Regions from separate parts of the Homo sapiens genome. Here region 2 is linked to region 1. The links are contacts of gene promoters, found by promoter capture Hi-C in human tissues and cell types (Jung and others, 2019). All regions are on one chromosome and are shown on one strand. Each heading gives the region's core, a stretch centred on a gene start or on the middle of the fragment in contact. The rest is flanking DNA. Distances are from core to core; before and after follow the strand shown. Region 1 holds the start of PCDHGA1 (protocadherin gamma subfamily A, 1). Region 2 overlaps PCDHGA1 (protocadherin gamma subfamily A, 1).

What was found. The method cuts DNA at HindIII sites, captures the fragments that hold promoters and counts their contacts. A contact is called where the count stands out against the background at its distance.
Region 2: a fragment that was not itself captured here is called in contact with the fragment with the promoter of PCDHGA1 in region 1 in 4 of the 25 tissues and cell types used here (aorta, dorsolateral prefrontal cortex, hippocampus and 1 more).

What each region holds. Positions count from the first base shown.
Region 1 is chr5:141,326,337-141,333,737 of GRCh38, forward strand. It overlaps PCDHGA1 (protocadherin gamma subfamily A, 1), which reads left to right and starts at 4,178. Exons shown (of 4, transcript NM_018912.3): 1 at 4,178-6,769. The coding sequence starts at 4,349. It also overlaps PCDHG@. RefSeq lists an enhancer at 1-111 and a silencer at 7,334-7,401. The HindIII fragment of the contact is 6,267 bases long and covers 658-6,924 here.
Region 2 is chr5:141,458,784-141,466,184 of GRCh38, forward strand. The region is part of intron 1 of PCDHGA1 (protocadherin gamma subfamily A, 1); the gene reads left to right. All of the region lies in intron 1 of PCDHGA2 (protocadherin gamma subfamily A, 2), which reads left to right. The region is part of intron 1 of PCDHGA3 (protocadherin gamma subfamily A, 3); the gene reads left to right. The region is part of intron 1 of PCDHGB1 (protocadherin gamma subfamily B, 1); the gene reads left to right. It also overlaps PCDHGA4, PCDHGB2, PCDHGA5, PCDHGB3, PCDHGA6 and PCDHGA7, and 10 more genes. Among named protein-coding and RNA genes, the nearest start is that of PCDHGC3, 13 kb to the right of the region's middle. The HindIII fragment of the contact is 8,589 bases long and covers 1-7,335 here.

The DNA of each region.
Region 1 (7,401 bases), core at 2,928-5,427:
GACCCCGAGTGAGGTGCTGCCTTTTATTCCTGAGCATCTTTGGAAGCAGGAAGCAGGGAGCAACGGTAGCGAGAGGTATTCGGATCTGAGTATCAGCAGGAAGAAGAAACAGAGGAAGAAGTCCCCCATAAGGAAGGCGTGAGGAGCGCAGGAAGCGCTGTTTCCCTGCCTGAGATCTTTATTCTACTAGGTCTTTATTCTACGTAGCCGATACGCTGTAAAATTCTGGAAGAGAAGGCTAGGGGTTTAAGGTTGGTAATCTCTCAGAAGATCTGCGTCTCGGTGACGGAAAGAACTAAGGGTAAGTGCTGAGAAGCCTCTCTTTACAGCCAGAGAACGAGCCAGAGCCGAGCTTGAGAATGACGGGATAGATCTAGCAGTTATGCCCAAGGAAGACCCTCGGCCCTTTGAATTTGAAGGCACTGAAAATCGTATAAATGTTTTCATATAAACGTATGCATCTTTGATATAAATAACAAAATGGCTTTTAGCACAAATTTTGTTTTGGAAATTTTGAAAAACGTCTTAATAAGAGGAATGTTTACTCTTAAGTCTGCAGTAGATTTTGAACACCGGCAGTAACTGTACAAATATATCAGATTAGTTTTAATAGCCATCTCCCCTTCCCCTACAAGTAAAGGAGAGTACTACAGCAGTATGTACTCTGAATTGCTGCTATTGAAGAACCCCTGAGCCTGTGCAGCGTGGCACTCCTGTGGTCCCCATTACTCAGGAGGCTGAGGCAGGAGGATTGCTTGATGCCAGCTAGAGGCTGCAGTGCACTATGAGAACACCTGTGAATAGCCACTGCATTCCAGCCTGAGTAACATGGCCAGACCCCATCTCTTAAGAAAAGAAAAGAAACCCTGAACCAGAGGAGCAGAGCTGCCACCACTTAGTGGTGGGGATGGGGCAGAACAGCTCAGGGCAAGACACAGGCCTTGGATGCCAATGCCAGCCGTCAGATATTGAGCAATGTGTAAGTGGGGTTAGCCTGCAGGAGAACCTGCTCGCCACCTCCTCCTCTTCATTCTTTAGGTGATCCCCATTGACCTAGACAATATCTTTAATATAGAGTTCTCCTGATTTTTCTACACAATTTTACAGGGCATACAGAATATATTTCCTGTCCAATAATGACAGAAATACTTGATTTTGAAGAGTAACAGTTATAGCTTGGAATAGAAGACTGGAGGCAGTTTGAGGGCCGACTTCAGAGTCCTGGTTGAAATGAAGGTTGAGAAGTATAATGCAGTCAGTGCAGGTGACTTTCAGCTGGGTATCTAGTCCTATCAGAGGTAAAAACTGTGGTTGCCCTAACCAAAACAATAGGACTAAGAGACCTTAAATGAAAGATGAAAGTTATTATAGAGAGAAATGATCATACTGGCAAACAATTCACCTCCAAGAATTATGATGTGACTCTTTGTCAGATACTCACAGATGGAATTCTAAACTGGTAGCAGACCCTGAAGGACAATGTCACCATCAGAACCACCAACAAGGACAAACTGTCCCTCTCCTGCATCACCCTGCATACCATCTGCATCCACAAAAATGCTCATTCTTCAACAAGCCTCCTATTTCTTTTGGGTGACTGGGAACACTGCCCAGCACCTCCATCACATGCTTTAGCGCTTCCCACCCTAACTTAGGGTCCCATATGCCTCCTGTTTCTTCTTGACCAGTGACCTGCCACTGTGGGCACTGTCATTCTACATGTCAGTGAGTGCAGAGTGCTATGGTTACCATGCAGACTATCTTTGAGCTGACTCTGCAGGCCAGTGACCAGGGTTCAACTTGCTCAGTGTCATCCTGAACCTGCATGTGATGGTGGATGACCATTGCAAAAATGCAAGGACACTATGCCAGGAGTTGCAGCCAAGTGGGGCCCTCTTTGATGCTGCACCACTCACAATGCAACCCAGCTATCCCATCACCAAAGTGGACACCAGCTGGGGCATAAAGGCTGACTGTCCTATCATGTGCTTCAGGCCAGCTAATGTGGCTCTTCAAACTAGGGATGTGCACGAGCTAGATGCGTGCCGTGTCACTGTGGGTAACAGAGATGCAACCTGCCAAGGTTTGTTGGTCACCGTGGTCAATGGTGAATCATCACGCTGAAACATCACCTGGTTGCTGCTCATAGTTTGCAGGAGTTGCTACCAGACCTCAGCAATCGCCCAGCACCCAACAGCAGGCAGCAGACAGCACCCAACAGCTGGCGATGGCCGTTGCCTTGATCTCCATGCTGTTTCTCCTCAGTGTGACTCTGGCCATCTCTCTGAACCTGCAATGCCCCCTATAGCTCCATTGCCTGGGGCTGTTTTCAGCTGGATCTCTGGTCCAAGCCCGGATATGGAGTTGTCTCCAACTTAAAGAAAGGAAATTTGCCCTGTTCCTACAACGTATGTGTGGTTTTAGATATTTTTAAAATCTTAATTTCTTTAACTCAAGAAACAGCTTTGAACCAGGTATTCTCTGCAGTGCCAGCAATGAAGCTTTGTTTTATTTTTGTTTTTGTAGAAACGGGGTTCACTATATTGACCAAGCTGGTCTCAAACTCCTGGCCTCAAGTAATCTGCCCACCTTGGCCTCCCAAAGTGCTGGGATTGCAGGCGTGAGCCACTGTGTGTGGGCAGCAATGAAGCTTTAAATGTTGCATTTGATTCAAATGTATTTGTGTGATATTTTAACATTTTTATTTTATACTTACCATCCTTTTATAAATCACTCCTGCGTGTTTTTGGTTGCTGAAAGTAGGGAGCTCTACAGGTTTACTTACTAGTTCTTATGTATATTTTAATTTACCTCATTAGCTCACAATTTCTTTGGGGAAAAGTTTATGCCTATTAATGTGTATTCTGAAAAGTTACATTCTCTGTTAAAGAGTTACTTCCTTGCAATATTGAAGATGATTTATTGCACCTTTAAATTTCTACTCTTTGGCTCCATGTACTTGTCTTTGAGAAGCTGAGAAACTGTAGATTTGGTTAAGAACTAAAGTTCTCTTTCCAAAAACTATTATTGAGACCTTTCATTGTTTTCTTTCTTTCCTCATTTTTAACTTTTCTCAGTCATGGTGTCCATGGGTTGGCTGGCCGAATTTGTTCCTGAAATTATCAGACTCTGGAGTACAGATAGCATGCTTCTCTAACTTTGGGGTAAAGATAAGTAAGTCACTCTAAGCCTGAGACATTTTAATTAGTAACCCTTTGCTAATAGTGCAGTGATTAAAAAAAAAAGAAGGCCACATCCTCAACTGGTTAAAAAATACTGTTAAGAGAAAACCAACTTCTCTTGGAGAAAATATTAAGTGCGATTATAGAGGAATACATATTATAAGAGCCTATCTAAAAATAAAGATGAGACCATTTTTCTTTTCAGCTGTGAAGAATAATATCATAGACTTTGTCTCTGAAATTTGAAATCTAAATTATATATTCATGTGACTTTTCAATGAAATTCCAAGAGCCCAGTTTTATTTTTTTCAAAATATATTGCCTTTGGTGAATCTTAAGAATTTTTTAAAAACCCACATAATGCAAAGACACTTCAAAAAAAAAAAAGAGGAAAAATAAGGATAGGGTTAAACCATGCTCTTCAAAATCCCAAGGTTTCTGATAAATATTCAAATCATAATGGGAAGGAAATGGGATGGTATGATTTTTTTAAAGTCTAGCTTATATTCTAAAAGATTATTTTTCCCTCTAATACTTTTCACCCTCCAGTCAAAGGGGAGCTGCTCTATGTGGCCTGGGAAATTACCAAGTGGTCAAACTTTACTACAGAAAAAGTGGAGAGATGATTTTGTCCTCATTGTAATGTTAGGTTTTTACTATAATTCCCTGAATAGCAAACTTGGAAAGCAGATAACATGGGAATACTTGGATTCTCCTGTATATTTCAATTTGGTGACATTTAGGCACATTTAAAGAAGTGAACATATAGTTTCTCTTTTTCATACATATATTGTAGAATTATTTCCTTGACAATAGACTAAAACTTAAGAAAATAACAAGTTAATGAGAAGGTTTTCAGTATTTGCTAGGAATGCAGTAACTGGTTAGGACTGTGGGCGCCGCTGTTCACTAATCTGGTAGATACAGGCAGTACACACAGGTCAGGAGGAGGAAAAAAAAAAAAAAGAAAAAGAAAAAAGCTCTCGTGCCTCTTAGAACCTCCATAACCGCCAGATTGAAAACTGACTGTCCAAGACTGCCTAAATCCTACTTCTGGATGACTCTCCAGTCAGAATTCTCCTGAAAATTGGGTTAATTTCAGCTCAGAAAAGCAGAAACGATACCCTTGGTACTGGACTGGAAGAAAACTACGAAGTGAGAGAGCCATGAAGATTCAGAAAAAGCTGACTGGCTGCAGCAGGCTGATGCTTCTGTGTCTTTCTCTGGAGCTGCTGTTGGAAGCTGGGGCTGGGAATATTCACTACTCAGTGCCGGAAGAGACAGACAAAGGTTCCTTCGTAGGCAACATCGCCAAGGACCTAGGGCTGCAACCCCAGGAGCTGGCAGATGGCGGAGTCCGCATCGTCTCCAGAGGTAGGATGCCGCTTTTCGCTCTGAATCCTAGAAGTGGCAGCTTGATCACCGCGCGCAGGATAGACCGGGAGGAGCTCTGCGCTCAGAGCATGCCGTGTCTCGTGAGTTTTAATATCCTTGTTGAGGATAAAATGAAGCTTTTTCCTGTTGAAGTAGAAATAATTGATATTAATGACAACACTCCCCAATTCCAGTTAGAGGAACTGGAGTTTAAAATGAATGAAATAACGACTCCAGGTACCAGAGTCTCATTGCCTTTTGGGCAAGACCTTGATGTGGGTATGAACTCACTCCAGAGCTACCAACTCAGCTCTAACCCTCATTTCTCCCTGGATGTGCAACAGGGAGCCGATGGGCCTCAACATCCAGAGATGGTGCTGCAGAGTCCCTTAGACAGAGAAGAAGAAGCTGTCCACCACCTCATCCTCACAGCTTCTGATGGGGGTGAACCAGTCCGTTCAGGGACCCTCAGAATTTACATTCAGGTGGTGGATGCAAATGACAATCCTCCAGCATTTACTCAGGCACAATACCATATAAATGTCCCCGAAAACGTGCCGCTGGGTACTCAGCTGCTCATGGTAAATGCCACTGACCCTGATGAGGGAGCCAATGGGGAAGTAACGTACTCCTTTCACAATGTAGACCACAGAGTGGCCCAAATATTTCGTTTAGATTCTTACACAGGAGAAATATCAAATAAAGAACCACTAGATTTCGAAGAATACAAAATGTATTCAATGGAAGTTCAAGCCCAGGATGGTGCGGGGCTCATGGCTAAAGTTAAGGTACTGATCAAAGTTTTGGATGTAAATGATAATGCCCCAGAAGTGACCATCACCTCTGTCACCACTGCAGTTCCAGAAAACTTTCCTCCTGGGACCATAATTGCTCTTATCAGTGTGCATGACCAGGACTCAGGAGACAATGGCTACACCACATGTTTCATTCCTGGAAATTTACCCTTTAAATTGGAAAAGTTAGTTGATAATTATTACCGTTTAGTGACTGAAAGAACACTGGACAGAGAACTTATCTCTGGGTACAACATCACAATAACAGCAATAGACCAAGGAACTCCAGCTCTATCTACTGAAACTCACATTTCACTACTAGTGACAGATATCAATGACAACTCCCCAGTCTTCCATCAGGACTCCTACTCTGCCTACATTCCCGAAAACAACCCCAGAGGAGCCTCCATCTTCTCTGTGAGGGCCCACGACTTGGACAGCAATGAGAATGCACAAATCACTTACTCCCTAATAGAGGACACTATCCAGGGGGCACCCCTATCTGCCTACCTCTCCATCAACTCCGACACTGGGGTCCTGTATGCGCTGCGATCCTTCGACTATGAGCAGTTCCGGGACATGCAACTGAAAGTGATGGCGCGGGACAGTGGGGATCCGCCCCTCAGCAGCAACGTGTCTCTCAGCCTATTCCTGCTGGACCAGAACGACAACGCGCCCGAGATCCTGTACCCCGCCCTCCCCACAGATGGTTCTACCGGCGTGGAGCTGGCGCCCCTCTCCGCAGAGCCCGGCTACCTGGTGACCAAGGTGGTGGCGGTGGACAGAGACTCGGGCCAGAACGCCTGGCTGTCCTACCGCCTGCTCAAGGCCAGCGAGCCGGGACTCTTCTCGGTGGGTCTGCACACGGGCGAGGTGCGCACGGCGCGAGCCCTGCTGGACAGAGACGCGCTCAAGCAGAGTCTCGTGGTGGCCGTCCAGGACCACGGCCAGCCCCCGCTCTCCGCCACTGTCACGCTCACCGTGGCCGTGGCCGACAGGATCTCCGACATCCTGGCCGACCTGGGCAGCCTCGAGCCCTCCGCCAAACCCAACGATTCGGACCTCACTCTGTACCTGGTGGTGGCGGCGGCCGCGGTCTCCTGCGTCTTCCTGGCCTTCGTCATCGTGCTGCTGGCGCACAGGCTGCGGCGCTGGCACAAGTCACGTCTGCTACAGGCTTCGGGAGGCGGCTTAGCGAGCATGCCCGGTTCGCACTTTGTGGGCGTGGACGGGGTTCGGGCTTTCCTGCAGACCTATTCCCACGAGGTCTCCCTCACTGCGGACTCGCGGAAGAGCCACCTGATTTTCCCCCAGCCCAACTATGCGGACACACTCATCAGCCAGGAGAGCTGTGAGAAAAAGGGTTTTCTATCAGCACCCCAGTCTTTACTTGAAGACAAAAAGGAACCATTTTCTCAGGTAAACTTTTGTGATGAATGTATCAGCTATCTAGAGAAAAATAATTCTTGATTTAACTTACTAGCGTTCGCTCTTTGCTACAGATAGTTCTTCTAACCCATGTATCTTTGTAGCTTTTTATTACAAGTCCTGCAAAATCACGATTGAGTCTACACGTTCATATGCAGGTATATTTATAATTGTTCTTGCACTGAAAAGGAGACTGTGATCATAATGTAGGTGGTTGGGTTGAAGGTATGTGTGAGATGCCATCTCTGTTTGGAAAGAGCACTGCATTAGAAACGGCGATCTAGCTTCTAACATTTTCTTACTTGCCTCTGGGCTAAAAGGTTTGATTAGAAAAGGCTCACCAATATTTAAATGACTAACACTATTTTCAAATTTTCTTTTTATAAGTACCTGCTAATCTACCCCTGAATTTAATGTAGATGTCATCTGTCAGGACACTGTGATAGTTTATTTGGGGACATTTGAAGAGGTGAAGATTGTCTAAAGTAGTATTTTTAGTTGTGTTCATATAAGATTATAGAGATCTATATAAACTGCAATTTTAAATTATTGTTGAATATTTTAGCCTTTTATTCTATCTTTATTATCAGATTTTTTTGGTTTTGAGATGGGGTCATGCTAGA
Region 2 (7,401 bases), core at 1,791-4,290, 130 kb after region 1:
GTGCAGTGGTGTGATCTCAGCTCACTGCAACCTCTGCCTCCCAGGCTCAAGTGATCCTCCCACCTCAGCCTTCCAAGTAGCTGGGACTACAGGCATGCACACCATGCGCAGCTAATTTTTTCTATTTTTTGTGGAGACGGGGTCTCACTATGTTGCTTAGGTTGGTCACAAATTCACAGCCTCAAGCAGTCCTCCTGCCTCACCCTCCCAAAGTGCTGGGATTACAGGCATGAGCCACCACATCCAGCCTTACCAGCTATATTGAAGTATAATTTATATAACATAAAATTTGCCTTTTAAAATTATACAGTGCAATGCATTTTGACAATTGTTTACATCTGTGTAACCACCATGCAATCAAAATATAGAACATTTCTATAACCTTCAAAAGTTCCCTCATGCCCCTTTGCAATCAATTCACTACTTCTCCAGCTCCAGGCAACAACTGGTCTGCTTCCTGTCACTATAAATTAGTGTTGCCTCTTTCAGAATTTCATCTAAATGGAATCCTATAACATATACTATTTTGTATCCATCTTCTTTTACTCCAAAGTTCTTGAAATTCATTCATGTTCCTGTGTGTATCAGCAGCGTGTTCCATTTGATTGTTGAGCAGTATTGCATTGTGTGGATATATCACAATGTGTTCATTCATTCAACTGTTGGTGGACATTTGAGTTGTGTCCAGTTTAGTGCTATTCTGAATTAAAGTGATGTGAACAATCATGTACAAGTATTTTTGTAGGCATATTTTTTTTATTTCTCTTGGATAAATACCCCAAAACAGAATTGTTTTGGGGGTCATATGAAATGGGAAGTATATGCTTAACTTTATAAGAAGCTGCCAAACTATTTTTCAAAATGGTAATATCACTTTACATTTTCATGAGCAATGCATAAAGCGTTCCGCTTGCTACATTTTCTCACCAATGCTTCCTATTGTCAATTTTTTAAATTTTAGCAATTCTAGTGGGTGTGTGATACTATCTCATTGAAGTTTCAACTGTTTTTCCCTGTTGACTAGAGACACTGAGCAACTTTTCATGTGTTGTCTATTTGTATATCTTCTTGAAGCATTCGTTCATCTTTAACTGAGCTGAACGCCTTCTTAAAATTGAGCTATGGGAGTTTTAAAATATATCCTTGTAGCTGGGCGTGATGGCAGGTGCCTGTAATCCCAGCTACTCAGGAGGCTGAGACAGGAGAATCGCTTGAACCCAGGAGGCGGAGGTTGCAGTGAGCCGAGACTGCACCACTGCACTCCAGCCTGGGCAACAGAGTGAGACTTCATCTAAAAAATAATAATTATACATGTAATTATATATGATTTTTATATATGTAATATATATATTCTTGATGTGAGCTCTTTGTCACATACATATTTTGTGGATATTTTATCCCAGACTATGACTTGTCTTTTCATTTTCTTAGTTGTGTCTTTTGAAGAGCAGAAGATGTAATTTTGATAAAGCCCAATTTATTTTTTCTTTTATAGTTTGTATTTCTTATGTCCTATTCAAAAACTCCTTGCCTACTGAAAACTTATGATGATTTTCTCCTATATTTTCTTTTAGAAGTTTTATAGTTTTACCATTTATAATTTGGTCTATGAATCCTTTTGAGTTGATGTTTATGTATGGTGTATGGTGTGAGGTAACAATGAAGATTCATATTTTTTTCCAAAGGAATATCCAATTGTCTCTTTGGAAAAATATGCTGAGAAGGCTATCTTTTCCCCACCAAATAATCTTAGCACCTTAATCAAAAATCATTTGGCCATGGACATATGTAGGTGTGGGTTTTTTCTGGGCTCTCTGTGTTAGATGGATAGATAGACAGATACAGATATATAACTGTGTTTACACATATGTAACTGTAAACACAGTTATATATCTATATATCCACCAACAGTTGAATGAGAATAAACTATTGTTATAAGCATATATACACATTGTATATATATGTGTACATATACATATTGCATATGTATGTATACATATATACACACAAAGTATATATATGTATGTATACATATATACACACTTAAAGTAATGGCCTCCAGTTCGATCCAAGTTGCTGCAAAGGACATTATTTCATGCCTTTTCGTGGCTGAGTAATATTCCATGGTGTATATATATATATGTGTGTGTGTATATATATGTATTATGTATATATATATGTGTGTGTGTGTGTGTGTGTGTATATATATATATGTGTATATATATATACCACATTTTCTTTATCCACTCATTAGTCGATGGGGACTTAGGTTGGTTTCACATTTTTGCAATTGTGAATTGTGCTGCTATAAACATATGTGTCCAAGTGTCTTTTTCATATAATTACTTATTTTCCTTTGGGTAGATACCCAATAGTGGGATTGCTGGATTGAATGGTAGATCTGTTTTTTGCTCTTTAGAGAATCTCCATACTGTTTTCCATAGAGGTTGTACTAATTTATATTCCCAGCAGCAATGTGTAAGTGTTCTCTTTTCCCCACATCCACACCAACATCTATTGTTTTTTGACTTTTTAATAATGGCCATTCTTGCAGGACCAAGGTGGTAGCTCGTTGTGGTTTTAATTTGCATTTTCCTGATGATTAGCGATGTTGAGCATTTTTTCATATGTTTGTGGGCCATTTGTATACCTTCTTTTGAGAAATGGCTATTTGTGTCCTTTGCCTACTTTTTAATGGGATTGTGTTTTATTTTTCTTGGTGATTTGTTAGTTCCTTGTAGATTCTGGATACTAGTCCTTTGTCAGATGTGTACTTTGCAAAGATAATATTTTGGATGTTATATTTCCATTATAATTTAGTTCAAAGTATTTTCTAATACACCTTGCAATTTCTTCTTTGACCCATGGATTATTTTAAAGTTTGTTATTTTGTTTGTTTATTTTGAGACAGAGTTTCACTTTTTTTGCCCAGGCTGGAGTGCAGTGGCACAATCCCGGCTCCCAGATTCAAGCGATTCTCCTGCCTCAGCCTCCCAAGTAGCTGGGATTACAGGTGCCCACCACCACACCCAGCTAATTTTTTTTTCTTTTTTTTTTGAGACAGAGTTTTGCTCTTGTTGCCCAGGCTGGAGTGCAATGGCACGATCTCGGCTCACTGCAACCTCTGCCTCCTGGGTTCCAGCAATTCTCCTGCCTCAACCTCCTGAGTAGCTGGGATTCCAGGCATATGCCACCACGCCAGGCTAATTTTGTATTTTTAATAGAGACGGGGTTTCTTCATGTTGGTCAGGCGGGTCTTGAACTCCCGACCTCAGGTGATCTGCCCGCCTTGGCCTCCCAAAATGCTGGGATTACAGGCATGAGCCACTGCACCCAGTCCAATTTTTTGTATTTTTAGTAGAGATGGGGTTTCATCATGTTGGCCAGGCTGGTCTTGAACTCCTGACCTCAGGTGATCCGCCTGCCTCGGCCTCCCAAAGTGCAGGGATTACAGGTATGAGCCACCATGACCAGCCTAAAGTGTATTGTTTAGTCACCAAATATGTAAGTATTACCCAAATATATTTGTCACTGATTTCTAATTTAATTGTATTGTGATCCAAAAATATACATTGTATAGTTTCTATTCTTTTAAATTCGTTAACATTTCTTTTATGGCACAGAATATGGTCTATCTTGGTGAGTGTTGCTTACACACAACTGTGTAACTGAAAACTGTGTATTCTGCTTCTCGTGGTTGTTGTATCCTATAATTGTCAACTAGATCAAGTTAGTAAGAGTGTTGTTCAGTGATCTTTTCTTCTTCAGTGTTTACTGTATTTGCTAATCCCATCCAGTGAAGTTTCCATTTCATATATTGTATTTTTCACTTTTAGAAGTTCCATTTGACTCTTTCATTTCCATCCTCAATTATCTTCATATTTTTCTTTAAATTTTTGAGCACATTTATAATGGAGGTTTTAAAGTCCTTGTCTGCTAATTTTGTCACCTCTGTAATTCCTATGATGATTTTCTTCCTGGCTTGGGGTCATAATTTGTTGCTTATTTGCATGTCTAATAATGTTTTTATTGGACAGCAGACATTGTAAATGTTATATTTTTGAGTGTTTGGATTTTGTCTTTCTTTAAGAACTATTGCAGTTTGTTTTGGAAGGCTATTATGTTTTTTGCAGATCAGGTTGATCTTTTCAAGGCTTGTTTTTAAGCTTTGTTAGGACAGGTCTGTAGTAACTTTTGCCTTGGGCTAATTTAGACCTACCACTTAATTCTGACTTTTTTGATTAATCTGAGTGTTCAGCAGGGTCTCTTTATTATGGCTAAATGAAATTCAAACATTTTCCAGCCCTATGTGACCATCAAGAATTCAGCTAATAGCTCCCTGGCAGTTCTTCGCCCAGCTGCAGAAAAGTGTCAGTGCACTCTATGTATGCTCAGATTATTATTTAGCCAAAGACTTGGGGATCCATATTAATATTCCTGGAGTTCTTTGTGTAGCTCCATTCTCTTTAGTACTCTATCCCATAAATTCTGGCTGCCTCAATCTCCTAATCTCCCCAAACTCTAATATCTATTCCTCAACTCAGCAAAACCATGGTGTTATTCTTGGATTTCCCCTTTCCTGCCCCACAGTCTGAAAGTTGTCTCCAGGCAAAAAAAATGGAGATCCTAGTTTGCGGATCCTCATTTCCTTCTCCTTTTTTTTTTTTTTTTTTTTTTTTTTTTGAGATGGAGTCTCGCTCTGTCACCCAGGCTGGAGTGACGTGGCGTGATCTCGGCTTACTAGAAACTCCGGCTCCCGGGTTCATGCCATTCTCCTGCCTCAGCCTCCCGAGTAGCTGGGACTACAGGTGCCTGCCACCATGCCCGGCTAATTTTTTGTATTTTGTTTAGTAGAGACGGGGTTTCACCGTGTTAGCCAGGATGGTCTGGATGACCTCGTGATCTGCTCACCTCGGCCTCCAAAAGTGCTGGGATTACAGGCATGAGCCACCGCGCCCGGCCTGCTTCTCTTCTCTTATGGGTTAGAATCCTGCACTGTCTTTTGAACAAATGTCTAAAAGCTTTTATCACACATTTTGATCCACTTCCCAGTTGTTATAGTGGTATATCTGGTTTCACATGACTGAAAGGAAAAGTTTTCACCTTGCTTTTTGTACTAATAATATATCCTGGAAATCATTCTATATAAATTTATAGAAATCTTCATTTTTAAAATAGCTTCATAAAACTCCATTGTAAAAACCAGGTGCAGTGGCTCATGCTTGTAATCCCACACTTTGGGAGGCCAAGGCGGGTGGATCACCTGAGGTCAGGAGTTCAAGGCCAGCCTGGCCAACATGGTGAAACTCCGTCTCTACTAAAAATACAAAAATTAGCTGGGTGTGGTGGTGGGCGCCTGTAGTCCCAGCTACTTGGAAGGCTGAGGCAGGAGAATTGCTTGATTTCAGGAGGCGGAGATTGCAGTGAGCTGAGATTGCGCCACTGCACTCCAGCCTGGGCTACAGAGCGAGACTCCGTCTAAAAAAAAAAAAAAGCAAAAAAAAAAACTCCATTGTATGTGCACATATCATTATCTGTTCAACCCATCTATGACTTGTCATTTAGGTAGTTTCCATCCAATATTTTTGCAATATAAAAAATGCTAATGAAGAACCTGAGATATATATATATCTATATATATAGATATATATGTTTGTTGTTGTTGTTGTTATTTTTGAAGTATGTACGTATAATAAATTCCTAATAGTGTGATTGCTGCATCATAAGGTAAAGGCATATGTAGTTTTGTTAAATATAGCTATTCCCCATCTTGCATTCCTACAAATAGATGAGAATGTCCATTGTCCCATAGTCTCCTTTGCAGAGTATATTGTCAAGCTTTTTAATTGTTGCCAACCTGATGGGTAAAAAGATATCTCCAAATAATTTTAATTAAAATTTCTCTTATTATGAATGAGGTTAAATAGTTTTTCATATGTTTAAAAGCCAGTTTATATCTTTTTGTTTTTTTAGAGACAGGAATCTTGTTCTGTTGCCCAGGCCAAATTGCAGTGATGCAGTCATAGCTCACTGTAGCCTCGCACTCCTGGGCTCAAGCAATCCTCCTACCTTAGCCTCCCAAGTAGCTAGGACTACAGATGGATGCCACCATGTCCAGCTAATTTTTTTATTTTTTTGTAGAGATGTGAGGTCTCACTATGTTGCCCAGGCTTGTCTTGAACTACTGGCTTCAAGTGATCCTCCCACCTCAGCCTCCCAAAGTGCTAAGATTACAGCCATGAACCACCACAAATGACCCTATATATTTTTTTGAATTGTCTGTTCATGTCTTATTTTCATTTTTCTAGTAGTTTTTTTTTTAAGTGTTTTAGCCTAAATTTGTAAAAAGTTTAGGGGATATATGAAGGGACTCTAAATGTTTATGAAGAAATTTAATTAAAAGATAAAAATAAAAATATAAGCTTTATTTTTCAACATGAGCTCCATCAAGTTCAAGGCACTTTTGTAAGCAATGATACTAGCCATTTAGTTCACCCCTAAAGAACTGAGAGTCCTGGGAATTTAGCCATGTCAATGCAGTATTTTTTATATTGGTTACTGAAGAAAAAATGGGTGCCCTTTAAAGTTGTAAGATTAGGAACAAAAACAAGTCAGAAGAAGCCAAATCAGCACTGAAAGGTGGGCACTTAATGATTACCCAAGAAAACTCTCACCAAATTGCCCTTGCTTCATGAGAGGAATGAGCGGGAGCATTGTCGTGGTCAGGAAGGATTCTGGGGAAGTTTTCCCAGGCATTTTTTCTGCTGAAGCTTTGGTAACTTTCTCAAAACACTCTCATAATAATCAGATCTTATCACTCTTTGGCCCTCCAGGAAGTCAACCAGCAAAATGCTTTGAACATCCCAAAAAAGCGCTTGCCATGACATTTGCTCTTGACCAGTCTGCTTTTGCATTGGTCAAATGCCACCACTTCCACCTCTTGTGCTTTGTTTTCAGGATCAGACTGGTAAAGTCATGTTTCATCTCTTGTTACAGTTTTTTTTTTTTTAAGAAACCCTTCAGGATCTTGATCACATTTGTTTAAAATTTCAACTGAGGCTGGGCCCAGTGGCTCATGCCTGTAATCCCAGCACTTTGGGAGGCCGAGGCGGGCAAATCACGAGGTCAGGATTTCGAGTCCATCCTGGCTAACATGGTGAAACCCCATCTCTACTAAAAATACAAAAAATTAGCCGGGCATGGTGGCAGGCACCTGTAGTCCCAGCTACTCGGGAGGGTGAGGCAGGAGAACGGCATGAACCCAGGAGACGGAGCTTGCAGTGAGCTGATATCATGCCACTGCACTCCAGCCTGGGCAACAGAGTGAGACTCCAGCTCAAAAAAAAAATCAAGTGAAAACTCTGGTCTTAAACTGCAGCTGATCTATTTTATTTTTATTTT